4 separate regions of the Homo sapiens genome follow, and regions 1, 2 and 4 are each linked to region 3. Evidence: promoter capture Hi-C in 16 types of primary human blood cells and fetal thymus (Javierre and others, 2016). All regions are on one chromosome and are shown on one strand. The core of a region is centred on a gene start or on the middle of the fragment in contact, and the rest is flanking DNA. Distances in the headings are between cores, read along the strand shown. Region 1 overlaps SYNPO2 (synaptopodin 2). Region 2 overlaps SYNPO2 (synaptopodin 2). Region 3 holds the start of MYOZ2 (myozenin 2). Region 4 overlaps USP53 (ubiquitin specific peptidase 53).

Evidence for each region. Contacts are between HindIII fragments. The CHiCAGO score rates a contact against its expected background, and 5 or more counts as called.
Region 1: a contact is called between a fragment that was not itself captured here and the fragment with the promoter of MYOZ2 in region 3, in 1 of 17 cell types (monocytes). The highest score is 6.3, in monocytes.
Region 2: a contact is called between a fragment that was not itself captured here and the fragment with the promoter of MYOZ2 in region 3, in 1 of 17 cell types (monocytes). The highest score is 5.3, in monocytes.
Region 4: a contact is called between a fragment that was not itself captured here and the fragment with the promoter of MYOZ2 in region 3, in 3 of 17 cell types (M1 macrophages, non-activated CD4 T cells and M2 macrophages). The highest score is 6.0, in M1 macrophages.

Annotation. Positions count from the first base shown.
Region 1 is chr4:118,975,124-118,981,507 of GRCh38, reverse strand. The region is part of intron 1 of SYNPO2 (synaptopodin 2); the gene reads right to left. It overlaps SYNPO2-AS1 (SYNPO2 antisense RNA 1), which reads left to right. Exons shown (of 3, transcript XR_939120.3): 2 at 2,896-2,957. Among named protein-coding and RNA genes, the nearest start is that of SYNPO2-AS1, 6.4 kb to the left of the region's middle. The HindIII fragment of the contact is 1,904 bases long and covers 1,417-3,320 here.
Region 2 is chr4:118,992,836-118,999,439 of GRCh38, reverse strand. All of the region lies in intron 1 of SYNPO2 (synaptopodin 2), which reads right to left. Among named protein-coding and RNA genes, the nearest start is that of SYNPO2-AS1, 11 kb to the right of the region's middle. The HindIII fragment of the contact is 915 bases long and covers 3,819-4,733 here.
Region 3 is chr4:119,133,049-119,139,901 of GRCh38, reverse strand. It overlaps MYOZ2 (myozenin 2), which reads right to left and starts at 4,070. Exons shown (of 6, transcript NM_016599.5): 1 at 3,920-4,070; 2 at 3,301-3,390. The coding sequence starts at 3,376. It overlaps LOC102723967 (a long non-coding RNA gene), which reads right to left. Exons shown (of 3, transcript XR_001741422.1): 3 at 6,348-6,853. The HindIII fragment of the contact is 2,789 bases long and covers 2,391-5,179 here.
Region 4 is chr4:119,261,187-119,267,155 of GRCh38, reverse strand. It overlaps USP53 (ubiquitin specific peptidase 53), which reads right to left. Exons shown (of 19, transcript NM_001371395.1): 12 at 5,292-5,441. Among named protein-coding and RNA genes, the nearest start is that of ARLN, 36 kb to the left of the region's middle. The HindIII fragment of the contact is 2,988 bases long and covers 86-3,073 here.

The sequences.
Region 1 (6,384 bases), core at 1,119-3,618, 160 kb after region 3:
GAAGAGAGGTCAGTAATTATGGTAATTACATTAATCACAAGGATTGTTGCACGGAGGAGGGTATTGACATTGACGTGGCTACCCTATGATGAAGCTCTGTGGGGGGTCTGCTCTAATTGGCCACCACCAAAAGTCTCTCATGCCTATGATTAACTTCTCTGGTTGTTTATGTGAGCAGGCTTAGGAATTCTGCTGGGTTGTTCTGTGCAGGGCTTATGAGACAGGTTGGTTGCAGGGCTGTTAGGCTGTTCAACTAGAGAGCCCATCCTGGAACAAATGGGTCAGATAAAAACACACGCTGTGCTGTCCTTCATGGTTTGTTGCATTGTTTGTGGTACTTTGGGTGATTTCAGTTAATCATGAATCTCCTTCAACAAAGATTTTTGCATGGAAAATGCTAGTTCTTCTAAACTGCTCTTGGGCACAGAGATAAACTGGACCAGCGCAATGAGCAGGAAAGAGTGCTTTATCTAGCAGTTATTTGGTGCTGTGGGAAAAGCCCAGAAAAAGGAAACTGTGCTTAGTAACTTGAGATTGAGAATCAGCTCTGCCACAAACTGGGTATGTGACTGTGAGCAAGTCGCTTAACCATTCCAGACTCAGTTTCCACATAGGCAAAGTGTTTCATGTAACTCAGATTAGGGGTTCATAGGCTTATGTGCAGATGGCATGCCACACATGCCACCACCAGGATGAGGCCTAAGAGGCAGCGTCCTCTTTCCCTCCCTTCTTTAACTAAACCAGGTTCACTTTTATCCATTTTATAAATTGGAATCTGAAAACCACTGGATTCTATATATGTGCTTCTTTTCCAGCTACTTTATGCTGTGATAGTTATAGATACTCTGAATGGTGATGCTGACACTTATTAATCAAGTTCTTTTTTTTTCAAATTGTAAGTGAAATCATATATGTCTCTGTTAATTTACAAGTCTAGTTTCTGATAAAATTAGTCCAGTCGGTGGAATGATGGCATGTGTGGGTGTGTGCTGGGGAAGGGGGGAAAAGAAAGAAGTAACAAGGCTCATGGTGACCCCACAGCTCCCAGGAGGATGCAGGCCAAGGAAGGATCTAGGTAGACCTTGCCAAGCAAACAGTAGACAGTTCTAGGAGTGTGGATAGACTCTACCAGAAAAGCCAGCTAGAAAAGGGATGGTTCTGGTCAAGGAATAGTCCGGAGAAGGTCTGAAGGCACATCAGCAGACTAACAAGGCTTTTCACTCTGTGCCTCTAGAAGACATATTGTAAGGTCTGAGTGGGCCCCCAAAAGAAAAATACATTAGAAAGAGTTGAAAATCAAGATTTCCAGAAAACAGATGAAAAGTTTTTACTACACTATACTATATATGGGTATATATGTCATTATTAATAGCAGCCATCATTAAACTAATATGATTTATTTTCATTCAGGAAGCTTTCCCTTTAAGTTAGCTTAAAAACCGCATATACTATGCAATGTATCCAACTTTATTCTTCAAACTCCAAAAGAGTTTTTTCCTCTACAGTGCTTAAAGATAACACAAGTGTGGATGAGTGATGGTTGAGATCCAGTCTCCTTTCTTGAGAATAACACGAGGCACAGACCAAGCAATAGACCAAGGTGCTCAGAATTATGAAATGTCCACTCTTTTTAGTTCAAGTATGCTGAGTGCGGAAGAAACTTCCTGACCTCCTAGTGTTTTTATGTCACCATCTGTAACCTATAATTACAGAGAGATTCTAACTTATTAAAGTAATTGCTCAGACTATAATTCCTGGTTATATGAATTTCTGAGGTACAATTTGTATGGCCTCCTGCAATAGATGCCTCTGTTGCTACCCTGTCATTGTGCTGAAAATATAGTATAGATAATGAAAGGATATCCAACCAGTGAACAAATATTTACTGAGCACATATCATTGGCAAGACATTGTCATAAACAGTACGGAAATACAAAGTTAGGCCAGGGATAGGCCTTGCCCACAAAGTGCATGCAATCTAGTAAAAAGTTGCATGTGTAAACAACTAGAAAATAAGGCAGCCAATAGTAAGTACTTGATAAACAAGATGGTAGTATATGATTCTGACTTAGAGCTGAGGGTGAGATTTTAGGTCATTGGCTCAGGAAAGGGGTTTACAAAGTAAATTACCTTGAGACCCGGCCTTACAGCATACAAAGACTTTTGTAGGTGACAAAATTCTTTCTTTCCACAGGAAGGGAGAAGATGCTAAGCAGTACTGGCAAAACAACGCTACGGCAGTAGGAAAGCATAGCCACTATTCAAGAGATAGCTAAGCAGGAGAGACTGTGGAGGGTAAGGGAAAATAGTAGAAGGCAAGTCTGGACAGGAAGGTCAGAGCCATATTCTAGGGGTGTTTTTGTTTTGTGCTAAGGAGATGAGAGGTGCCATGGAGCTGCAAGCCAGAAAGCAAAATGCACAGAACGATTGGAAAGCGAAAGAGGCCGATCCAAAATCACCTCTGGAGTATATCGCATCAGTACAGGTGTTAAACAATAAAGATTTCAACTAGAGCAATGGCATCAGAAATGATGTAAGAATGCGCTATGTGTGCGGGCCAGTGTTATTGAAAAGCAGAATTCAATTCAAGGGCACTACATAGGATAAAACAATAAGTTGGACAAGGGAGTCCTATACATAAAAAGGTTACAGGCACTTTTCAACAAATGGGCTAAGTGTGTGTGTGTGTGTGTGTGTGTGTGTGTGTGTGTGTGTCATGGCAGGAGTATTTCACATGAAATACACAGGTATATTTGTACCTATGATTAGTCTTAAAGTCCTGGCATCATTTCTCAAAATAAATAACATTTTTTAAAAAATCTGGAAGCAGGGAGATTTGATTGGGCACTGATAATCATTACCTTGTAAATGAAGTTGAATGTTTTTCCGTTTCAGGAAATCATTGGGACAAGTGGAAAATCCATTGGAATACACATATATATAGTAAACAGAACAAGGTAATATAAATTACCCTGATTATTCATAAGCCAACTGGTGACGAGGATAAGGTATAGCCGAAGTTTCCCTGCAAATGGTTTGTCATGTTTTTCTTGTCAAAAAATTAATGCTAGACCCAACTCTTTTGTGTTTTACTGCACTTTTTACTATGCTAGGGAAACGGTCATATTTTATTTTTGATGCAACTGAACAATTAGAGAAAATGATTATCTAGAATTCTAAAAAGTAAATAAAATGACAACAAGATACAGTAATTCAATCAATCAGCAACTGCAGGTTAAATGCTTGCTTTGAGGGCAACTTTGGGCTAAATTGTGGGGAACAAAGGGAAAGATGTGACTTGGCTCATTCCTAGAGAAGCTTGAAATTTAGATGGGCAAATCTGGCCAAGAAGCAAGTTGCAACTAGAAAATCAATAAGTTATGACATCATAAGCCATTGACGTTTTCAAGGAATTCACCCAAAGATCTTAGAAAATTCCCAATCCACAAATTCTACAGTAGCATATAATTCCCTCATAAAATATTCATGCAACGGCAACTTGATAACAACAAAACTATGTTGGACTATATATGAGGTCCTATTTGCTGGGTTCACTCACTTGGCTAGTAACCTACTACCTGGAACCAGGCTTGCAGAACTCCTGAGTGGAAGTTATGTCTTTGCAAAATTATAAGTGGCAATGCCATAAACCTACAGGGTTGCTTTAGAGATGTCAAAAGTGGGATTGCTAACACTGTACAAGGTCAAGCACTACTCACCATGATATACGTTCAAAGAAGGCCTACATAATGCAGAAATTTCTATAGGGCAGAGTTGATGCTCCACAGACAAGGTAGGATTATGATCCAGACATGTCTGATTTCTAGCCTCTGAAGCTCTTCCCTGCCATCAGGAGAATGGCTGGATCCCACCCACAAGGCTAGTGTCTCCTCAAGTTGAGAGGTGACAGCATGCTGGCAGTCCTCAGAGCCCTCGCTTGCTCTCGGCACCTCCCCTGCCTGGGCTCCCACTTTGGTGGCATTTGAGGAGCCCTTCAGTCCCCTGCACTGTGGGAGCCCCTTTCTGGGCTGTCCAAGGCCGGAGCCCACTCCCTCAGCTTGCAGGGAGGTGTGGAGGGAGAGGCGTGAGCGGGAACCGGGGCTGCGTGCCGCGCTTGCGGGCCAGCTGGAGTTCCGGGTGGGCGTGGGGTTGGCAGGCCCCGCACTCGGAGCAGCTGGCCAGCCCTGCGGCCTCGGGCAATGGGGGACTTAGCACCCAGGCCAGTGGCTGCAGAGGGTGTACTGAGTCCCCCAGCAGTGCTGGCCCACCGGCGCTGCGCTCGATTTCTCCCCGGGCCTTAGCTGCCTTCCCACGGGGCAGGCCTTGGGACCTGCAGCCCGCCATGCCTGAGCCTCCCACCCCCTCCATGGGCTCCTGTGCGGCCCGAGCCTCCCTGACGAGCACCACCCCCTGCTCCACGGCGCCCAGTCCCATCGACCACCCAAGGGCTGAGGAATGCGAGCGCACGGCGCCGGACTGGCAGGCAGCTCCAGCTGCAGCCCCGGTGCGGGATCCTCTAGGTGAAGCCAGCTGGGTTCCTGAGTCTGGTGGGGACGTGGAGAGTCTTTATTATCTAGCTCAGGGATTGTAAATACACCAATCAGCACCCTGTGTTTAGCTCAAGGTTTGTGAGTGCACCAATCGACACTCTGTATCTAGCTGCTCTGGTGAGGACGTGGAGAACCTTTATGTCTAGCTCAAGTATTGTAAATACACCAATCGGCATTCTGTATCTAGCTCAAGGTTTGTAAACACACCAGTCAGCACCCTGTGTTTAGCTCAAGGTTTGTGAATGCACCAATCGACACTCTGTATCTAGCTGCTCTGGTGGGGCCTTGGAGAACCTGTGTGTGGAAACTCTGTATCTAACTAATCTGATGGGGACGTGGAGAACCTTTGTATCTAGCTCAGGGATTGTAAATGCACCAATCAGCGCCCTGACAAAACAGGCCACTCGGCTCTACCAATCAGCAGGTTGTGGGTGGGGCCAGATAAGAGAATAAAAGCAGGCTGCCCTAGCCAGCATTGGCAACCCGCTAGGGTCCCCTTCCACAGTGTGGAAGCTTTGTTCTTTTGCACTTTGCAATAAATCTTGCTACTGCTCACTCTTTGGGTCCACGCTGCTTTTATGAGCTGTAACACTCACCGCGAAGATCTGCAGCTTCACTCTTGAGACCACGAGCCCAGCGGGAGGAATGAATAACTCCAGACGCGCTGCCTTAAGAGCTGTAACACTCACTGCAAAGGTCTGCAGCTTCACTCCTGAGCCAGCGAGACCACGAACCCACCAGAAGGAAAAAACTCCGAACACATCTGAACATCAGAAGGGACAGACTCCAGACGTGCCAACTTAAGAGCTGTAACACTCACCGCGAGAGTCCGCGGCTTCATTCTTGAAGTCAGTGAGACCAAGAACCCACCAATTCTGGACACAAAGTCACTAGAGTCAATCCAGTTATTGGGCAAGAAAGATTTCAAAAGCTCTGGTAGGGGACAGGGAGTCTATTAATAAATGGCAGTCTCCATAGCCGGCACTTTTATATTTTTGCAACAAATCTGTAAAATATTTATTTTTCTCCTGACTTTGAGGAAAGTAAGGCTCACAAAAGTTATGGGACTTGTGTCTGATCATACAGCTAGTGGCAGGAGAATGAAATTCAAGTTCAAAGGCATTTACTATGGTAGATTCCCTCTCAGGCTGTGGAGCACATATTCTTAGCCCTGTGTTTTTTGGGGTATGAGACTGGGTCACTTAATGCTGGTTGGCTCTGATCCAGAGTCCAAGTTTTGATGATTAGGCTTCTGCCTTGTGCTAGGGAACTAATCCTGTAACTATATCCCTGTGTGTCTTACTCTTTGTGACTTAATTGTGCCCTTAATAAATTGTGTGGTAACCCAGCTCTTCTATGACAGGAATTTCCCCTTGCACCTCCTCCTCCTTCCTGGGGGTGAAAGTCCTGCTCTTGAATTTCGCCTGATTGCTTGGACTCTGCTACCACTTGTTAGTAGATATCCCAAGTCCTGTCTGTGTGTATCCTTAAGTTCCTCATAATGGTTGTATTGGATCCTTCATCTCTGTTTGTCATTCATATGCCAGCCTATTCCCACTCTTAAAGCTTGGCTTTTTCTGAAAGGAACTTCTTGCCCAGACAACCCCAAATTTTCTGTTGCCATAGGTGCCCAAACTCTATTCTACTTGTTGATTAGTCTTCCTTCTAGCAGTAGTACTACATAGATTTTGGGATCTGTCACCCAAATTATTTGTTACTCTGTGTGCTGGTCTTTGTCTAGCTCCTTTAGCCCAATGACTGAGCGATATGTGGCCCATAAGATAAGTATGACAGAACAGTGGTGGGAAAGAGTCTGGTGTACTCCTGGAGGTGC
Region 2 (6,604 bases), core at 3,027-5,526, 140 kb after region 3:
TGGTTCACGCCTATAATTCCAGCGCTTTGGGAGGCTGAAGCAGGAGGATCGTTTGAACCCAGGAGCTTGAGACCAGCCTGGACAACATGATGAAACCCCGTCTCTACAAAAAATTAAAAAAAAATTAGCTGGGCACAGTGGCACGTGCCTGTAGTCTGAGCTATTTGGGAGGCTGAGGTGAGAGGATCACCTGATCCTGGGAGGTGGAGACTGCGGTGAGCCATGGTGGTGCCACTGCACTCCAGCCTGGGGTGACAGAGTGAGACCCTGTCTCGAAAAACAAAAAAACTTATCCATCATGGTAAATGAGTAATAATAACAGCTAAACATTTCACTTTACATACATTATCTCTAATCCTCACAATAACCCTGAGAGGTAAAGGCTGTTAAATCCATTTTCCAGAAGACAAAACTAAATCTTTGAGATGTTACATGGCTTGCCCAAGATCACACGGTCAACAAGTGTCCAGCTCTGCTGACGTTTAAAGGACCTCCTGTGCTCTGCACATTCTAGTACAAGTTAGAAAGAAAAAACAAAACAAAAACAAAAACAAAAACAGAGTAAGAGAGAGAGGGAGGGAGGGAGTGGGGAGGAGGGATGGAGAGGAAGAAGAGTTAATCTCAAACTTTGATCCATTTATTGGAATAATACTTCACAGACTCACAAAGTTGCAGAGTTGTGAAAGATTGAAAACATTAAAACACCTACCCTCTATTTTTCACAGACAGAACAACTGAGATCCAGAGAAGTTAAGATCCCTGTTAAAGGTTGCACAGCAACTGACACAGCTGAAACTAGCACAGACCTCAGTGATCTTGAGTCACACTCTAAGGTGACTTTCTCTGTGAGATGTAACTTTTGAACCAGGCACTAAGATATTAATACTCATTTAAAACAGGATAGCAACTAATAGACATGTAAACTTGCCTGTTTTAACTCTGGTTTACTGAAATTCTCTGGCTCCTAAGAAGCAAGAATTACAATTTTTTAAAGTTTTCATGATTAATTTTCTCATCATCAGACACATAGAAAATACCTAAAATACACACGATATTACATGATATTACACGATAATATAATTCTCTTTTGTTTGTTCACCAGAAAGGAAACTTTGCCCTTAAAGTGTGTTTCACTGCTTAGCAGTCCTAGCAATACAAATAATGCTTCATCCTTGAGCGCTCTCTTAAATTCATACTTTCAAACAGCAAAAAGGCTGCAAAATTTAGAATATGACCAAGCCAGTGAAGTGTGCATATTAAAAATATATTTACATAATTCAAGGCCTTGTAATTTTCCTCAAATAACTGACACATACTTTTTGAAAAATGCGGTTATCAAGCAGTGCAGTTAACCAAGTCCTAGTCTCCCATCCTTACCACCCCCGTCAGAATCCTAACACTGTCTTCTCCAGGAAGCGCCCCTCTCCTTTCTCCTCAATTCCCCCAAAGCTATTTTACTGTCAGGAGTCAGGGACATCTAAGATCTTGGAAATAAGATAACAGGGCTTGCCTTGGAGGGTTAACTCTAAATCAACAGGTTGCCTATGAGAACAGAAATGTTTAAAGTTGCCTCATAAGTGGACTGAGCACAGAACAGAGCTGACTAATGGGAGGTATTAACATGTCTAAGGAAAGAATGTGTCTTTCTGAATGGGTTGTCTAGAAATAGAAATTAGAAAAGAGTCATAGACAAACAGTGCCCATAAAAGTACTGCCCAGAGAAGAAGGCAGCCAGACTAAAGATTTGCTCTGCCTGGTGCAAGTAACAGGTGCATTCAACTGCAGAGGTGAGCAGAGCAGGCATCCACTATTGAATCTTTCAACTCACAGACTTTGTTCTGATTTCACACTCACAAATCTAGCTTTACTAATAAATTTGGTTCCTAAGGGAAACTATCACACTGACCAGAAGATGCAGGTATTCAGTCTTATCAATATGTTTTTTCCCTCCCTCTGAAGCAAGAAACTAGAATTCTAGTTTAGCCTCAGTGTCCCGTGTCTTCAGGTAGCATGAGTATAGTATCCCTAGATATTGTTTGAACAATGACAAAACTGGTTTAGAATCTGCATATTTGAGAGTCAGCTGGGGACTATGCTACACTGACAAAGGTAAGGCCATCTTGAGAGATCTTATATCAGCCAGTCAATCAATGTTTCCCTACCTCATTACATTTTCTTTTAATTTTTTTTTTTTTTTTTTGAGACGGAGTCTCGCTCTGTCGCCCAGGCTGGAGTGCAGTGGCGGGATCTCGGCTCACTGCAAGCTCCGCCTCCCGGGTTCACGCCATTCTCCTGCCTCAGCCTCCCAAGTAGCTGGGACTACAGGCGCCCGCCACTACGCCCTGCTAATTTTTTGTATTTTTAGTACAGACGGGGTTTCACCGTTTTAGCCGGGATGGTCTCGATCTCCTGACCTCGTGATCCGCCCGCCTCGGCCTCCCAAAGTGCTGGGATTACAGGCGTGAGCCACCGCGCCCGGCCTTTTTTCTTTTAAATTTTTGTCAAAATTAATTGACTTCTTTTCTGCTTGCAAATGGACATTTATTGATTGCTCTGTCTTATGACACTTTTTTTTTTTTTTTTGAGACAGAGTCTCACTCTGTCACCCAGGCTGGAGTGCAGTGGCGCGATCTCAGCTCACCGCAACCTCTGCCTCCCAGGTTCGAGCGATTCTCCTACCTCAGCCTCCCGAGTAACTGGGACTACAGGCGTGTGCCACCACGCCTGGCTTATTTTTTGTATTTTGAATAGAAATGGGGTTTCACCATGTTAGCCAGGATAGTCTCAATCTCCTGACCTCATGATCCACCCCCACTGGCCTCCCAAAGTGCTGGGATTACGGGCGTGAGCACCTGGCCTTATGACATATCTTACATCTTGCGTTATATTTATTTTTATTGTACAAAAGTGTATCTCTCTCCTTGAGAGAAGGTATTGTTTTGTTTATTCAATCACTTTTTTATCAATATGGAAATGATATACAATTATATTCTCCGTATACTCAGGCTAGTAGGGGTGGCAGACAGAAAAACAAGTTATACATCTGGCAAAGGTAATAAAAGTATTCATAAAGAACAGAAGCATTGCAAAAGTGGTGGACGAAGGGGGTGGCTGATCATTTTGGGAAACCTTTCTAGAGGAGGCAATGTCTGAGTTAGATTTTGGGAGATGAGTAAAACTTCAGTCACTGCAACCAGAAAGGGGAGGAGATTTCAAAGCAATGGGAACAACAAGTGCAAAGGCAAAAGCGTGAAATGACCTGGGAACCAAAGCACAGCTTAGTGTTTCCAAGATGTGAAGTGCAAGGAAGAGAGTCATGAGAGAGATGAGGCTGGACAGGTAGAGAGAGGATGAAAAGTTTGTGTATGCCGCATAATGGAGTTCAGGCTTTCCATTGTAGGTGATAGGAGCTAGCAAAAGCTTTTCAGTACAAAAGAGCCTGGATCGGATTGTGTTTAGTAAGACATCTTTAGCATCAATGTGGGCAAAGAAATAAAAAGAGGCAAGACAGAAAAAAGCAAAATTAGATAGATGATAGATAGATAGATAGATAGATAGATAGATAGATAGATAGATAAGATAAATAGATACATGGACAGATAAAGAATGAAAGACAGCATTTGGAAAAGTCCAGACCTAGCACTATCCAATAGAAATACAACATGGACCTCAAATGTAAGCCACATGTTCAATTTTAAACTTCCTTGTAGTCATTTGTCCCAGGTCTCATAAGTTATTGGTTATTAAGGGGCAGAGCTAAGATTTAAACCTGGGTAATCTAGCTTCAGAGTCAAAGCTTATAATTTGACTCTGAAGCTTACAAAACACATTATACTGCCACTCTGAATGCAAAGCCTGTGGAATCAGACAACCTGAGTTCAAATAACTCCTCCTTCACTTACTAACTGTGTAACTTGGAGCAAGTTATTTAATTAACAAACTTTGGTTTTTCTCATTTGTAAAATTGGAAATAATATGCCTATCTTATGGGGTTTTTGAGAGGAATAACAGACATAATGTATATAAGATACCCATCACAGTGATAGGTATACAATAAATAGTAAATAATAGTTGCTATCATCACATATATTGGGCTTGGAGCTCAATATATATCCAAGTTGGAATATATATTTCCCATCAAATATCTAACATAGTATCTGGTCAGAGCTCTGTTTTTTTCAAGAAATGACTTTGATTCATCACAAAGGCATATGTTTAAAGAACTTTGCAAATGAGACCTACAGGCTGGGATCATCCTAAGTCAATAGCTCAAATAATCATGGGTATTAGATCATGAGACAGCACTGGTGAGTGTTCATGGCACTTAGATACCATAGAGAATTGCACTGGAAGTAAAATATATGTACCTTGCTCTTACATTCAAGGAGTCTAAAAGAATGAACTGAATTATGAGAGCACGTTTGTTTGTATGTCCTTTCATTAGTTTGTGATTTGAAAAATAGTAAATAAAAAATATTCATTAGACAAGGATCTATGGTTATATGCCTAAAATCCAAGAAAATTTAATCAAAGGGTCTAAGTACATCTTATCTCCTATTCAGATAATCTAATTCTTGCATGGGCAGGCATTTGGATAAGAAAACAAATGCCAAAATTTTAAAAATTAAATACCCAAAAACTAGAAACAAAGATCTTTTTCTATAACACCTACGATTTTTAACTTTAGATGTCCAAGATGTTTATGGGAATAACATGCCACTTTCTACCAAGCTTGTGGTTATGTGATGTAAATTTACTCTGTCACTAGGATTGCATTTTACCAAAACTTTGCCTTTTTCTAGATGATAAAATGCTAGGTACAAAGCCTTTTAAGAGTTTTTAAAGAAAATTCCTCTGTAACCAATTAGTACTCAAACTCAGCGATTCCCCAGTTCATATATTGAATTAACAGTGCTCATATTGATGCATCTAACCCAATTGTCACTCCATCTCTCAATTCTTTAAATTACATTTAGGTGGTAGGTCTCCTCTTTCAAAACAGGGCTCAACTAATAACACACAATGTTCTGAACGCCAAGCTCATTTGATTTTTCTCATCTCAGTTTCTGTCAGGAGACCCGCCTAGGAAACCTCTCCTCTACAAGATGTTCAGTGGTCACATGCCTGGCTTGTCCTACAGGCACAGCAGATGAGTAACAAGTGTGTTTATAGATTTTGTGATGCTCCAGCTGTCGCTGATGGCAGGGTTTTCTGCTAAAATTGGTGAATTTTTGGCTATCTGCCTCTTTCCCTGAGTAACTCAAGCATCACCAGCGGAGCACAGTGGTCTTAGGAGGCCACACGTTGGAGAAAGAAATTAGATTCTTTGTAGGAACAAAACTACTTGTCAGAGTGTGGCCTAATATGGTGGTAGTGACTGACCCAGAGGCCCCCTAGAAGAACCAAATGTTCAACAGTAATAAAAGGAACTATTAATCAGCTCAGGGGCAGTGCATAGGACTGACGATCAGCTGGTCCGGCTTAAGCCTATGTCTCTTCTGGCTTGCTAGGTAAGACTAGGCAAAGCATTAAATCATTCCGTGCTTCCAGCATCATAAGTCCTGGGATTAAACATGATAATGGAATATATTTTCAACATGTCAGAATATAAGTAAACATTCAAGAGTCCTTTAAAATTTAGAAAATTCATAAAAATATTTCAAATACAAAGTAAAAAGTAATTTGGGGGAAAAACATGGGAAGAGAGAAAAGACTCTGAAATCAGTTAAACAGGTTCTTATACAAACATCTAGAAATACCATACTAAGCTGTAGGTCATATAGGGGGAAAACCTCCATCATGGGAGTCTGTAGTCTAAGAAACTTGTAGGCCAAGAGACTTGTGCTTGAAGAGGAAAGTGGAGAAGGAAGGAGGGACATTGCTGTGGCTTACACACAAGGACAAATCCAACACTTGAGTGGTGATATGTTGAAACTCACACAGACACATTAACAAGCTGTACTTGACAATTTGATCAAATGGAATATATTTCTCCATTGACTTTTAAACCAAACTAAATCAAGGAGGCCTCGTAAAATGAGATACGTTTGTCTATAGGAAAAGGTTTCCAAATAAATTTCAATCCACTAAAATTATATTTCTCTACAATGGCTAATCCTCACCGTCCATCATGCTTACTATTTCATTTCCACTTTGTAAGGCACTATTTTTTTTTAAAGAGAATAACTACAAACACACACACGTGCACACAAACACACACAAATACACATTTTGTTTGTCTTCTCTCTCTTCCTTCTTTAATTAATTCCGAAAATCAGAATTTAATTTAAAAATTTAATTGACAATGTAAGTAATTCTCTTATGCTGCTTTATTTTCCAAGGACTAACACTGGTTTCCCATTAACTCGCATATCTACTCTTATTATCTTGCAGATCGACTCTGCTTGGTTTGAGTAGTTTTCTTAAGAAGATGAATCTAGCTTTGCCCAACCACCCACCCAGGGTCCAGAGTAGAGAATGCTTTCTCTTTGTGCAGAGCCAGAGTGGAACTGTCTTGTAGACAACAGAAGATGCCCCACATCTGAGTAGCAAGAGGTAAAGCCATGCAGAGAAGTCAGGGTCCCAAAATTGGTGGGCGCTTATG
Region 3 (6,853 bases), core at 2,821-5,320:
AGTCATGAGGAGAAAAAAACAAACAAACAAAAAACGTACCAAAAAAAGCCCTCCTGGAACCCAGGTGAGAGGACTGTAGGGTGACTGAAGCTTACTTAGGAGGCACTGTGGTCTTCTCTATTTATGAAGCTCTTATTCTAAACTGTCAGCAATATCCATGCTTAAAGTCAGGGAACATCATACTCCCAGTTCTTCTTATGGTTTTTAAAATTCCAATTCCTTTCCCCCAGCATTTCTAAACAGATGCCAGTTTCTCTAGAGTGCCTCTCCTTATTTCATTCTGATTGCCCCATCTCTTTATCAGTTTAATACTTCCTATCCTTTTATCCTTTCCTACCTCTCTCTCTTCATTCAGTCTTCAAGTTTCACATGAGATACTGAACAAGAGAAAAATATGATTAATACTGGAAAATATGTACAGATTTAGGGGTAAATTGCACAAGGCTCATGGGTGGGGACTATCAGAGGCCATCTTTTCTTGTCTCCACAACTAATTCATGCATAGATAATGGCAAATTATCTTTTGTCTTTTACAATAGCACTTGTTAGATGGTAACAACTGTGGCTGAGATACTTTTATATAAAGCACAGAGGTTTGTCTCACAAGAGTAACCAGGACAGCTTTACCATTAGCTCTGCTTCCGGCCAAGGTGATGATGATGGTAATCATAACTATGATATAATGAGGAAGGTAAATCTAAAAGCAGGCAGCCTGCATGTTTGGGATGCTTTTTATTAGTCAATTGTTGGGAGTGTAGTATATTTGCTTCTAGTACATAATTTGAAACCAAATCACAATGGATTCAAAATGAGCAACAATTTGGGGTTGTGATTAGTGGAGGCTGGGAGTTATCCACCTCTCACTCATTCTATGCAGTTAGCATTATAATCTATATGAAGAGAATTTTTTAATAATTCTTTGAGGTTATCACTCCTGATGGAATGAGGGCTCTGATGTAAAACTCCCCATTTCTGGTTCTTATATTTTTCTAGTGATTTATCTCAAAGACTCACCGGCTGCAATCTCTTTCCCCTACAAGAATGGGATTGAATTTCCACCTCATGTTAAGAGGACAACAAGTGATTTAGCCAACTCATTGTCACATTTTATACTCCTCCAAGCTAAATGTTTTGGTAAGTAGTAATAAAAATTAAATGAGTTATGAGGCTGAAAAAAAATTCTGATGCACAAGGGGAAAGGAGAGAAGGCAGGAGAAGGGGATTTCGACTGGAACATCCTTTTCAATTTATCTTTATAAAGGACAATCCAGGCAAAATTTGATTTATTTAGTCTTACAATTAAGATCAAAGCAGTTGCATGTTTTATCTTAAATTATCCAGATTTTTACTCCTGTAAAATGTTTGAAAGTTTGGAGGATCATTCCCAAAAAAGTTTCTCTGAAGTCCATTTTATTATGCATCCTGAGAAAAAATTATACTCCCCTAGCTCCAGATCTCTAAACATCATGCTATACACAAATAGTAAAGTTCCATATAAAATGTCAGAGGAAATAAGAGAAGAAAAATATTTGAGCGGTTTCATAAAGTACTGAAGTTATTTCATCTGGGATGAGCTTGGAAAGAGTCTGATTATCCCCATGTTATCTGAAATACTTGACATTCCAACAAAGACAGAGCATGTGACTCCTCTTAAGGGAGCTGGTACTCATCCAGTGACATGGGAGGGAGGGCTTCAGCTGACTTTACGTGGCTAGGATTTACTGGTGGTGAGATAGTGGTTTTGAGGGTTTCCCCCACTTTGATATATAATTGTGTGTTTTCTCCCACATATTTTTTATAAAAACAATAGTTATGTTTATAAAAAAAAGGAAAAAAAACTTCTTACCCTTATAGATCTATGTCAGAGCTAACAGTAGATTCCAACACATGATTTAGGCTAGAATACATTAAATGGACTGACTGTTTTATGATTAGGATGTCATTAGAAAATAATAACATGAAAGGTCTATTTTAAGGTAAACAATTTTGTCACAAACTCCAGTGATCATCTGATTTTTGCCACATTGATCAGAAAAGCTAAAAAATAATTTCAAGTAAACTACTTGAATCTGGAAACACAAAGATGCATGAAATTTTAAATAAGGCATGAATTTTGGAACTTTGGATTGGTATGAATTCAGTTCTGGTATCTGACTCAGAATTATTCTCATTTTATTCCAAGCTAATTTGACATTACAGTAAAACATGAGAACCAAGTTGAATCCAGTACAGTGGTTCTGTATTGCAGAAAATAGAAAACAACAACGGACCTCTTAGTTATGATTACATTGCGTGGGGAGCATCTAAAAGTCTTTGATTCTGTTCCTCTTGCTTTATGGAAGGTGTAATATGAAAACATTATGCTCAATACTCTTCCCGGGTCTCAAGCTTCTAGGTCTCAATATTGTAGTGGTGAAAGGCTGCATTCCTTGTCAATACAGGGGAAATAAGGAGGCATTCTGAAAATGCCACTAATATATCTGGAATGGCTCAAATCAGCTCCTAAGAGGACCTGAATATTTTTCTTAACATTTAAAACTGATGCTATACGTTGCTTATAAACAAAGTTGAATTTCCTTTATAAGAATCAAAATGCAAGTTATAAAGCATTGCTTTCTCAAGTTAGTTGCTAGAATTTAAAGAAAAGGAGAGAGTGAAATATTACCTTGCACGTAATATATATTAAAATTTTTTTGAGTCATATGCTTTGAGACTACAATAACTTTATATTTTCTCAGAAGTTACAAATAAAAGTAGACTTTGCACACAAAATATGTTAGTAAATCAATTAACAAATATGAAGGGTTAAATAAATAAGCAATAGAAATGGAGTTAAATAATAAGCAATAAATATGAATTCCAACTTAATAGCTTGATAAAAAAGATGATAGAACTTATTTTGAGTGATTTATATAATGTAAGGTAAAAGAAATCAAGCTAAACCATGTGGGATGGACAATAAAGACAAGATTGTATGAGACTTGTCCAGAAAAAAAAAAGAATCGAGAGTGATCTTAACTTATAATGTGGAAGGCAAGCCAAGCAGAATGTACATCAGCTGTCAGATTGCTTCATGCCTTTTACAGCAGTTGTTCCTCTGAAAATAGCTTCCAAATGAGAAAGGATGACTACAAAAGGATTAGTTACCATAGGCTTTTCTACACCCCCTAGAGCTCCAGGTTTGTTATGACAGAACAGCAAGAATCTAAAGGAAGTAAACTATGGAATATTAAACAACGTCAGGATGGAGCCACATTCATGCTGTGCTATATTAATGCTACGAAGGATTTTTATTGATACCATTTCCATGGACTTCCTTCATGATGGCTGTTGCTTGCTGTTTTCTCTGCTTCATCATAGTATTATGTGATAGCATGGTTTTTTTGTTCCCTGTTAAAAACAAAGGGACATTATTGAGGCAATGTGAAGAACTCATTTGGAGTGTCTTATAATCACTGTTTTGAAAGACAACATCTTTGTTCTTTATTAAAAAGTTATTATCGCTTGCTACTGAAAGACTTCAATACGCATTCCTTATCTGGTGACAGAGTATGTTATTCATTGACAGGCAATGTCACAGTGAACAGAGACCCAGTCTGGACATTAATACAATGATCATCAGGCAGTGAGAAACAATGAAATTGCTGGTCTCCTTTCCCCTCCCTCTCTTTTCTCCACAGTATTTTAGTCTGTCATTGTCTCCTCACTGGCCTTCATTTGTACCAGCATCACACTCCATCAATTCCAGCAAACTGTAAGAATGAAGAAGACACTAGACTAAACCAGAATTCTTTGGTGGTAGCATTTTAATATTGGCAACAGCTGCCCTTTAAAGCAGAGAATGCCCATTTATGAGTCACAACTCTGAATATCCTTGGACAACTGACTAATGAAACATTTTAGGAAACAACATACTCACCTTGCTGTTAGATTGTGCTTTTTCAGCGGGGATGAATCCCAGTTTGTGGAGGAAGACTCTGGAGATGGACTATGGATGGCACTTGGGCCTGATGGTTTTTATCCTTGAACCTGGGACAGCATGGTCCCTACTCTGACTCAAACTGGGGACTGAGCTTTTCTGAAGAGACTGGCATTCAGCTGACATCAACTGGCTATATATAGCACCAAATACTTTAGCTACTCATATCTTCCTGGCGAAAGGGAGGAACAGGGAAAGATTAGGCTCTCTCCATTGTGTTTCTAGTTTGTGAGATGGTTAAATGAAACGTTCATTGGACATGCAGAAAGTTTTTAGTGAGCACTTTCTGTTGAACAGATAGTAGCCAAAAGGGATTTTAAACACTTTTAAACATCTAGCTCTTATGTTACATGTTAATTGAGGTGGCAAGAGACACATGCATGAATCAGAACAGAATGATAGATTTTTCATAATTAAAATGAACAATATAGGCAGTAATATCTATGTAGACTCAAGAAGAAAGGAAGTAATGTGGGGTGGATCAATAGAGCCAGTTCTTAAGCTGTAGTGAGAACTCATGCTAGGTTGAGAAAAGTATGTAGTATTTGAATAGTGAACTCAGGAAGCATTTTGAAATGAACCATTAGAGGATAAGCCATGAAGCTGGGTAAAAGCTGAGACTCATAACTGGGTCATGCTTTTTGAAGGGCCTACAGAGACCAGTCCCTGCAAAGTTGACCAGTCTTTACAATGTCTAGGGTCAAGGATTTTCATTTGCAGGCCTGACAAGATTTGAAAGGTTTGCCTGTCAAAAGGTTTGGCCTCCTTGATGGTCCCTGGACACAAAAACGTGCTCTCATCTCTGGGCTTTTCCTTTTACTGTTTCCCCCTTTCCTTTTACTATTTCCCCCTTTCCCTGGTTGAAATGGTGTCCTCAACAGATAATCATTATGTTAATTTTGGTTTCCAAAATGAAAATAGATACTGTATTCCTTTTACTATTTCCCCCTTCCATACTTTCCCTCTACTCACATGGCACAGTCATGCATTCAGGACTCTGCTCAGATAACAATCCCTCATAAAATCCTTCCCTTATCACCTTGTCTAAAATATCACACTGTGCCACTCTCTAGTCCCTTACTCTGCTTCATTTTCTTTATATTTTTCTATTAGTTAAGATAAAAGTCAAATGGGAGTGACAGAAACCCCCCCAAAACAGAACTGTAAAAAGATGGAAGATGTTTCTCTCACAGGTAAGCTTAGTCTAGAAGTAAGTAATTGAGGGTTTGCATGACTGACATAATTATCAAGGGCTCAGTTACCCTCTAACTTTTTGCTCCACTATCCCTAAAATGCAGACCCCTTGGGCCTAATTGGCTGCCCCAGCTCCAGTCAGCATGCATATATTTCAACCAGCAGGAAAAAGAAAAAAAAATGAGAAGGGAACACTGTCTTCTTTTCAGAACATGTCTGATATTTTGTTCATACTTCTGTTTACATCCCATTGGGCAGAACTTAGCCATATAGCCGTACATAACTCAAGAAAGGTTGGGAAGTGTAGCTTCTATTCTAGGTGGTCATGAGCCCAATTAAAATTCATACATAACTTACTAACAAAGAAATAATTGTTGCTGAGTGACAACTCAGTTTTTTCACTAAGAACATGCCAACATTATTCTATCTATCTATCTATCTATCTATCTATCTATCTATCTATCTATCTATCTATCTAGCAAAAGTTTATGTTATGTACAATTCTAAAGGTTGAAATGGCGTCCTCAACAGTTTTACTAGCACCTGTAATCCCAGCTACTCTGAAGGCTGGGGTGGGAAGATTGCTTGAGTCCAGGAGGTAGAGGTTGCATCTATTTATGTGATATCTCTTTTTTCTACTAAACTATGAATCCTATAATGGCTTGGGCTTTGTATCTTCAGCAGTTGGAATTGTATCTGGCATATGGTAAGCACTCAATATTCATTGAATGAATGAATAAATGAGTAGGTTGGAGATTAACTGCAGAATGCATTAAAGGTTTGGCATGAGTTTGGAATTCAAATGAACAGTCGCTTGAATGTACAAAGGTGGTGGCTATTTGTGGGAGGAATTGTATTTTATAAGATTGAAATCGGTTATACATTTTGGTGCCTGATCATAGGATTGAAAGTTTAAGGTTGTAAATCACAGCACTTTGGGAGGCCAAGGTGGGTGGATCGCTTGAGCCCAGGAGTTTGAGACCAGCCTAGGCCAGCTAGCAAAACTCTGCCTCTACCAAAAAAGCAAAAACAAAAACAAAAAACCCAAAAATTAGCCAGGTGAGTGGCATGCACCTATAATCTCAGCTACTCCAAAGGCTGGGGTGGGAAGATTGCTTGAGTCCAGGAGGTAGAGTTTGCAGTAATCCATGATCAAGCCACCGCACTCCAGCCCGGGCAAGACCAGACCTTGTTTAAAAAAAAAAAAAAAGAGAAAGCTAAAGGTTGTAGATAGCAGGTTTAAGCTAATCTAGCTAACCTATTGCAATTGTTTCTAAACAAACCATTTGCATTGAAAGTATAATTAGGTATCAAATGAGAAACAATTTTGCCAAAGCAAATAAATTTAAATTCCCTCTCAAAATCCCTTGAGTGCCCGTATGTTCCTGGCTGTAGCCTTTACCATAGTATGCTATTAGACAAGTCTTTTAAACTCTGTTTTCTCATCTGTAAAATGGTGATTACAGTATCTATCACATAAAGTCATGGACATTTTACATGGGACAATTTAGAAATTCCTTATACTTAGTAAAAATTTAATAAATGATTTTTTTCCTTTTGCTATTATTATTTCTGCAATATGGTAGGATTTAGAATTTTAGAGTAATCAACTGCATTATTCAGTTAAAAAAACCAAAGATTAAGAGAGTTCTGGTTTTCCTATTTGATCATCTTCATATG
Region 4 (5,969 bases), core at 330-2,829, 130 kb before region 3:
TAAATAAAAATATTTTAAACATTATCTTTTAAAAATTTGACGGGCAAAGATTATAAACTTCAAGGTGATTAAATTTTAAAAAGCTTTCCAAATATGTGGTTGACTGACATTTGACAAAGACTTCAAGACAATTCAATGGAGAAATATAAGAGTCAGCTCAACAAATGGTGCTACAACTGGAGAAAAAGAACTTTTACCATGAGAAAAATAACTTTAACCTGACTTCATATAAAACAACAACAAAAAAATGAACTCAGAATGGCTCACACAAAAACTAAAACTTACAGAAGAAAACAAAAGAGAAAATCTTTGCAACCTTGGGGAAGGGCAGATTTCTTAGCATACCAAACCATAGAAGAAAAATATTTTTAAAATGGACTTAATCTAAATTAATTAATAACTTTTGCTCTTGGAAAGACACCATTAAGAAATTGAAAAAAAATAAGCAACATACAGCTAATAAAGGACTGGTATGCAGAATAAAGAATTCCTACAACACATTAATAAGAAGATAATCCAATGCGAAATACTGGCAAAAAATTGGACATTTCACCAAAAGAAAGATGTAAGAATGGTCAAACAAGCACATGAAAAGATGCTCAAAATATTACCAATGACAAGGGAAATGCAAATGAAAACCACAGTGAGATAATATTATACATACACGAGAAGGGCTAACATTAAAAAGAATACCAACACGAAGTGCTGCTGAGAATGTGGAACAACAGGAACTCTCATACATTGCTCTCATAAAATGCAAATTGGTATAACCACTTTGGAAATCAATTTGACAGTTTCTTGTAAAGTTAAACAGACACTTACCACACAACCCAGAAATCCCACTTCAAGGTATTATCTAACAGCAACGGAAAAAAATATGTTCACAGATTACTCATACTTCAACAGGTAAACGGATAAATTGTTGTACAGCCATAAAACACACAATAAAAATAAAGTGTGAATCCAAACAACATGAATGAATCTTAAAGACATTATGCTAAAGGAAGGGAGGCAGATACACAGTAGTACATACTGTAAGAGACCATTTATATAAAATTGTAGAATGAGTGAAACTAATCTATAATGAGACCAGTGATTTCCTCATCCTGGGGTGGTGTGGGGAGTATGACAACAAAGAAGCCTGACAGAATTTTTCTAGCAGATGAACATGTTCTGTGTACTGATTATGGTAGTTACATAGGTAAATACATTTATCAAAACTCCAACTGTACACTTAAAATGGGTGTATTTTAATGTTTGTGCACTATACCTCTATAAAATTGATTTAAAAGCAAAACAAAACCAACCAAACAAAAACACCACAAAGCATTCTAGAATATTTTTGCAGGCAAGGGGACTTTTAAGAACAATTCTGATGAGCTTTTTTGAACTACACATATTCAGCTGTTTACCCTCCTCACTGGGGATTCCAAGAGACTTGAGGAGTCCATTTGTTTTGTTGTTGTTGTTGTTGTTGTTGTTGTTTTGAGAAAAGGTCTCACAGTCGCCCAGGCTGGAGTTCAGTGGCACGGTCTCGGCTCACTGCAACCTCCACCTCCCAGGTTCAGGGGATTCTCATGACTCCATCTCCTGAGTAGCTGGGATTACAGGCATGTGCCACCACACCTGGCTAATTTTGGTATTTTTAGTAGAGACAGAGTTTCACCATGTTGGCCAGGCTTTGAGGAGTCAATGTGAATATAAAATAAAAAACTTCACAGGGTGATTAATACAGCCAGTTCTTCCTCCAAATTTTGAACAATTTAAACTATGTAAAAGCAAAGTAGAAGCTGCAAATGTTGTTACACATCAACTCAAGATGAAACTTAATAAACTCCTACATCAAAGTACTAAGTAATTCAAGCAAAGTGCTGATTTTAAATATAAATACCAAAAAATTTTAATAGCTTTATTGAGTTGTACTATATGAAGTAAAATTATCTAGTTACAGTGTACAAGTCATTGAGTTTTGACAATACAATTGTGTAATCCTCACCCCAAAATCTTACCTTGTACCCCATTTTGCAGTCCCTGGAAATGAGTGATCTACCCTCCACACCTTTGTTTTTCCTTCTAGAATTTCATATAAATGGAATCATAGCATGTAGTCATTTATATCTCACTTCTTAGCATAATGCTTCTGAGATTTTTTCACATTATTGCATGTGTCAGTTCAATAGTTCAGTCCTTCTTGCTGAGTATTATATTCCACTGTATAGCTATACCACAATTTGTTCATCCATTCACCAATTGCTGACATTTGAGTCATTTCTAGTTTGGGCATTATGAAAACTACCATGAACATTCAAGTACACGTTTTACATGGACTTACATTTTCACAGGAGTGGATTTGCTGGGTTATATGGAAAATATATGTTTAAATTTATAAGAAACTGACAGTTTTGAAAGTGAATGTTCAATTTTGTGGTTCCATCAACCTTGTGTGAGAGATCCAGCTGTTCCTATCCTCACCAACTACTGGTCTTTTTAATTTTGGCCATTACAACAGATGAGTACTAGAATCTCATTATGAATTAAATTTGTATTTCCATTGTGGCTAATGATGTACTGAATATCATTTCAAGGGCCATTCATGTATATTCATTGGTGAACTGTCAACATTTTTTGCTGATTTTTTAATTGGATTTTAAGAGTTCTTTCAATATTCTGGATACAGTCTTTATTAGATAAATGCTTCACAAATATTTTCTCTCAGTATACGGTTTGTCATTTTATTCTCCTAATAGTATCTTACTGAAGAACAAAAATTTTAACTTTCAATGAAGTCTAATTTACCAGCTATTTTTATGGTTCATGCTTATTAAATGTTATCTAAGAAATCCCTATATATAAATAGTAGTTTTACTATCCTCCCCTGATAGTCCCATCTCAGTCATTTCTGGTCTGTTTTTATTAATTTTTCTTCAGGTTCTTTGAATATTTGGTAATTTTTTATTGAATGCTATTTTGAAGTGGCATATTGAATTTCATTGAACTTTGTAGTCTTGGGTATTGAATTTTGTTCTGTTATTTTAAAAGTGGGATTAGCTTTGAACTTTCAAGACTTTAAGCTTTTTTTGTTTGTTTGTTTTGAGACGGAGTCTCACTCTGTCACCAGGCTGAAGTGCAGTGGCGCGATCTCGGCTCACTGCAACCTCTGCCTCCTAGGTTCAAGCAATTCTCCTGCCTCAGCCTCCTGAGTAGCTGGGACTACAGGTGGGTGCCACTATGCTAAATTTTGTATTTTTAGAAGAGACGGGGTTTCACCATGTTGGGCAGGATGCTCTTGATCTCTTGACCTCGTGATCTGCCCACTTTGGCCTCCCAAAGTGCTGGGATTATAGGCATGAGCCCCCGTGACCAGCCCGGCCTTGTTTTAAGCTTTTTAATATCAGGTCCAGAGCAACCTTCAGCCTAGGAATAACTTAGCCCCATTATCAAGGTAATACTTTTCTGAAGGTTCCAGCTAATGCCTACATGTTATATCATCTCTCCACTCTTTATGGTGGGGATACAAACTATTACTAACCTTGTATGATTTTTGAGAATTGTTTTACCTTTTGTTTTCCAGTGATGCTTCCCATCTTTCCCAACTAACCCCAAACTTGTGTGGGTTCACCCCTCACATGCACAAATCACAATTTAGCCAAAAATTCCAAGGAACCCTTCTGTCAATTTCCAGAACTTTTTCCCTGTACAGTTTTCTTTCTAGTATTCTGTCCTGCAAATTTTAGCCATCTAGGCCTCCCTGAACTCCAGTTTCAGTCTCCAGAACTCAGTGACACTACTAGGCTTTGTTTGGGCTCCCACTGCCTGCACTGCAACCCAGAAACTACCTCTAGGCAGTAAGCAGGGGGTAATTATAGAGCTGAACTCATTTGTTTCCCTTTTCTCTGTTCAACTGCATGTTGTTCAATGTCTTGAGTTGTTTCACCTATGTCCTAGTTTTAAACAGTGAAATGGCTATTTCTATAGCAGTTAATCCTTCATGGGTAGAATCAGAAGTCCACTAAATACCAAACATTTGAATTTGTATTGTCTTAATCACAGTGCTGATAAATGGCCTTTTGTTATATATTAATAAAATGGAACTAAATAGAATTCTACATCATTTGCTTATAACAACCAAAGAACTTGTATTTTTAAATGAGTTTACTACTTAATAAAGATTGCCAAAGCCAGTAAGCCTTGACAAGACCAATAATTTTCAACTGTGTTATGTCTGAATTTCCTGTAGAACTTAAAATTTCAGATACCTGGCTTTACACCACTGAATCAAAACTTTAGGAATCCAGGAATATATGTTTTTTTAAAAGCTCCTCGTGATTCCAATACTCCTTATTAAGAACTACTATTCACTACTTTTCTAGACAATATTATTACTATTTGAGTAAACAAATTACAGTTGGCCCTTGAACAACACAGGTTTGAACTGCACAGGTTCACTTATATGTGAATTTTCTTCTGCCTCTGTCACCCAAGACAGCAAAAGCAATCTTCCTTTTCCTCCTCTTCAGTCTACTCAGCGTGAAGACAGCAAGGATGAAGACCTTTATGATGATCCATTTCCACTTAGTGAGTGGTAAATATATTTTCTTTTGCTTATAATTTTCTAAGTAACTTTTTTTCTTGCTTACTTTACTGTAAGAGTACAGTATATAATATATAGAACATACAGAATATGTGTTAATTGACTGTTTATGTTTTTGGTAAGGCTGCCTGTCAATAGTAGGCTGTTGGCAGTTAAGTTTTGAGGGAGTCGAAAGTGGTATGTGGGTTTTCAACTGCACAGAGGGCTTGGCACTCCTATGTTGTTCAAGGGTCAACTGTAATTACCAAAAGATATAACTGATATATCTATTTCTGTATTCTACACACAAAATTTGAAAAAAATTGTCATAATAAAAATAAAGGCAAGCATATTTTCATCACTAGTTATACAAAACTACTGTGAATCATCCACAAAAAAGTAAATATAGCAAGTATGCGTCAGGCAAAAAGGATCATCACTGACACACAGATCACTGATAGTTACATATTTGTATACTAATATTCATTAGTTTACTTATTATTATTCTGGAAATGGACTGGTTTAAAAGCTGGCTTCAAAATAAGCCAATTTCAAGAATAACAAAAGAAAGTTTGAACTTACTGATGCTATCATCATGTTCATTTATTACTATTTTACATATTAATTATATCATCCTTTTGAATATTAATATCAATATATCATTTATTAACAAAAAGTAAAAATCACAGTAATTATTTCAATTAAAGAAAGTGTCACTTACCTCTTTCACATTTGCATCATCAAAAAATACCCATTTGGAACTTTTGGTGTGAAATGCAAAGGCACAATAATGTTGGCTGGTGTAGCAGATCATACCAACAAGGTTAAGTTCACTATTTTTGGCATTTTCATCAGTAACTCTATAAAAAAGCTGTTTAAAAAAATTGGTAATGTACACTTAACACTACATCTTTTGTAAAATGAGGAATAATTAGATGAATCATGTCTTTGACACATAATGAAATATTTCTCATGCATACTGCCCCAATCTAATATTATATTATTACTTGAAGGCACCACTGACATCACATTGTTAACAGAATTACCACTTTTAATTCATTCATAAAACTTTAAGTCCAATAAAACGAATTCACTACAAATTAGTTTAGCAATAATAGAGTATCTCTAATGACACATGACTGACACTTTTCATAAAGAAATTCAAAATATGAGATAAATTCCACATTTCTGGTAATTCTTGACTGAATCACATATTTGAATGTTCATTAAACATATTATCTAAAAGATAATTATCCAAAACTTTAATTGTAACATGAACCAAATCAAAATATACCAAGAAAGTAACAAGCATAACAAGAGATCATGGCGGGGTGTGGTGGCTCACGCCTGTAATCCCAGCACTTTGGGAAGCCAAGGCAGGTGGATCTACTTGAGGCCA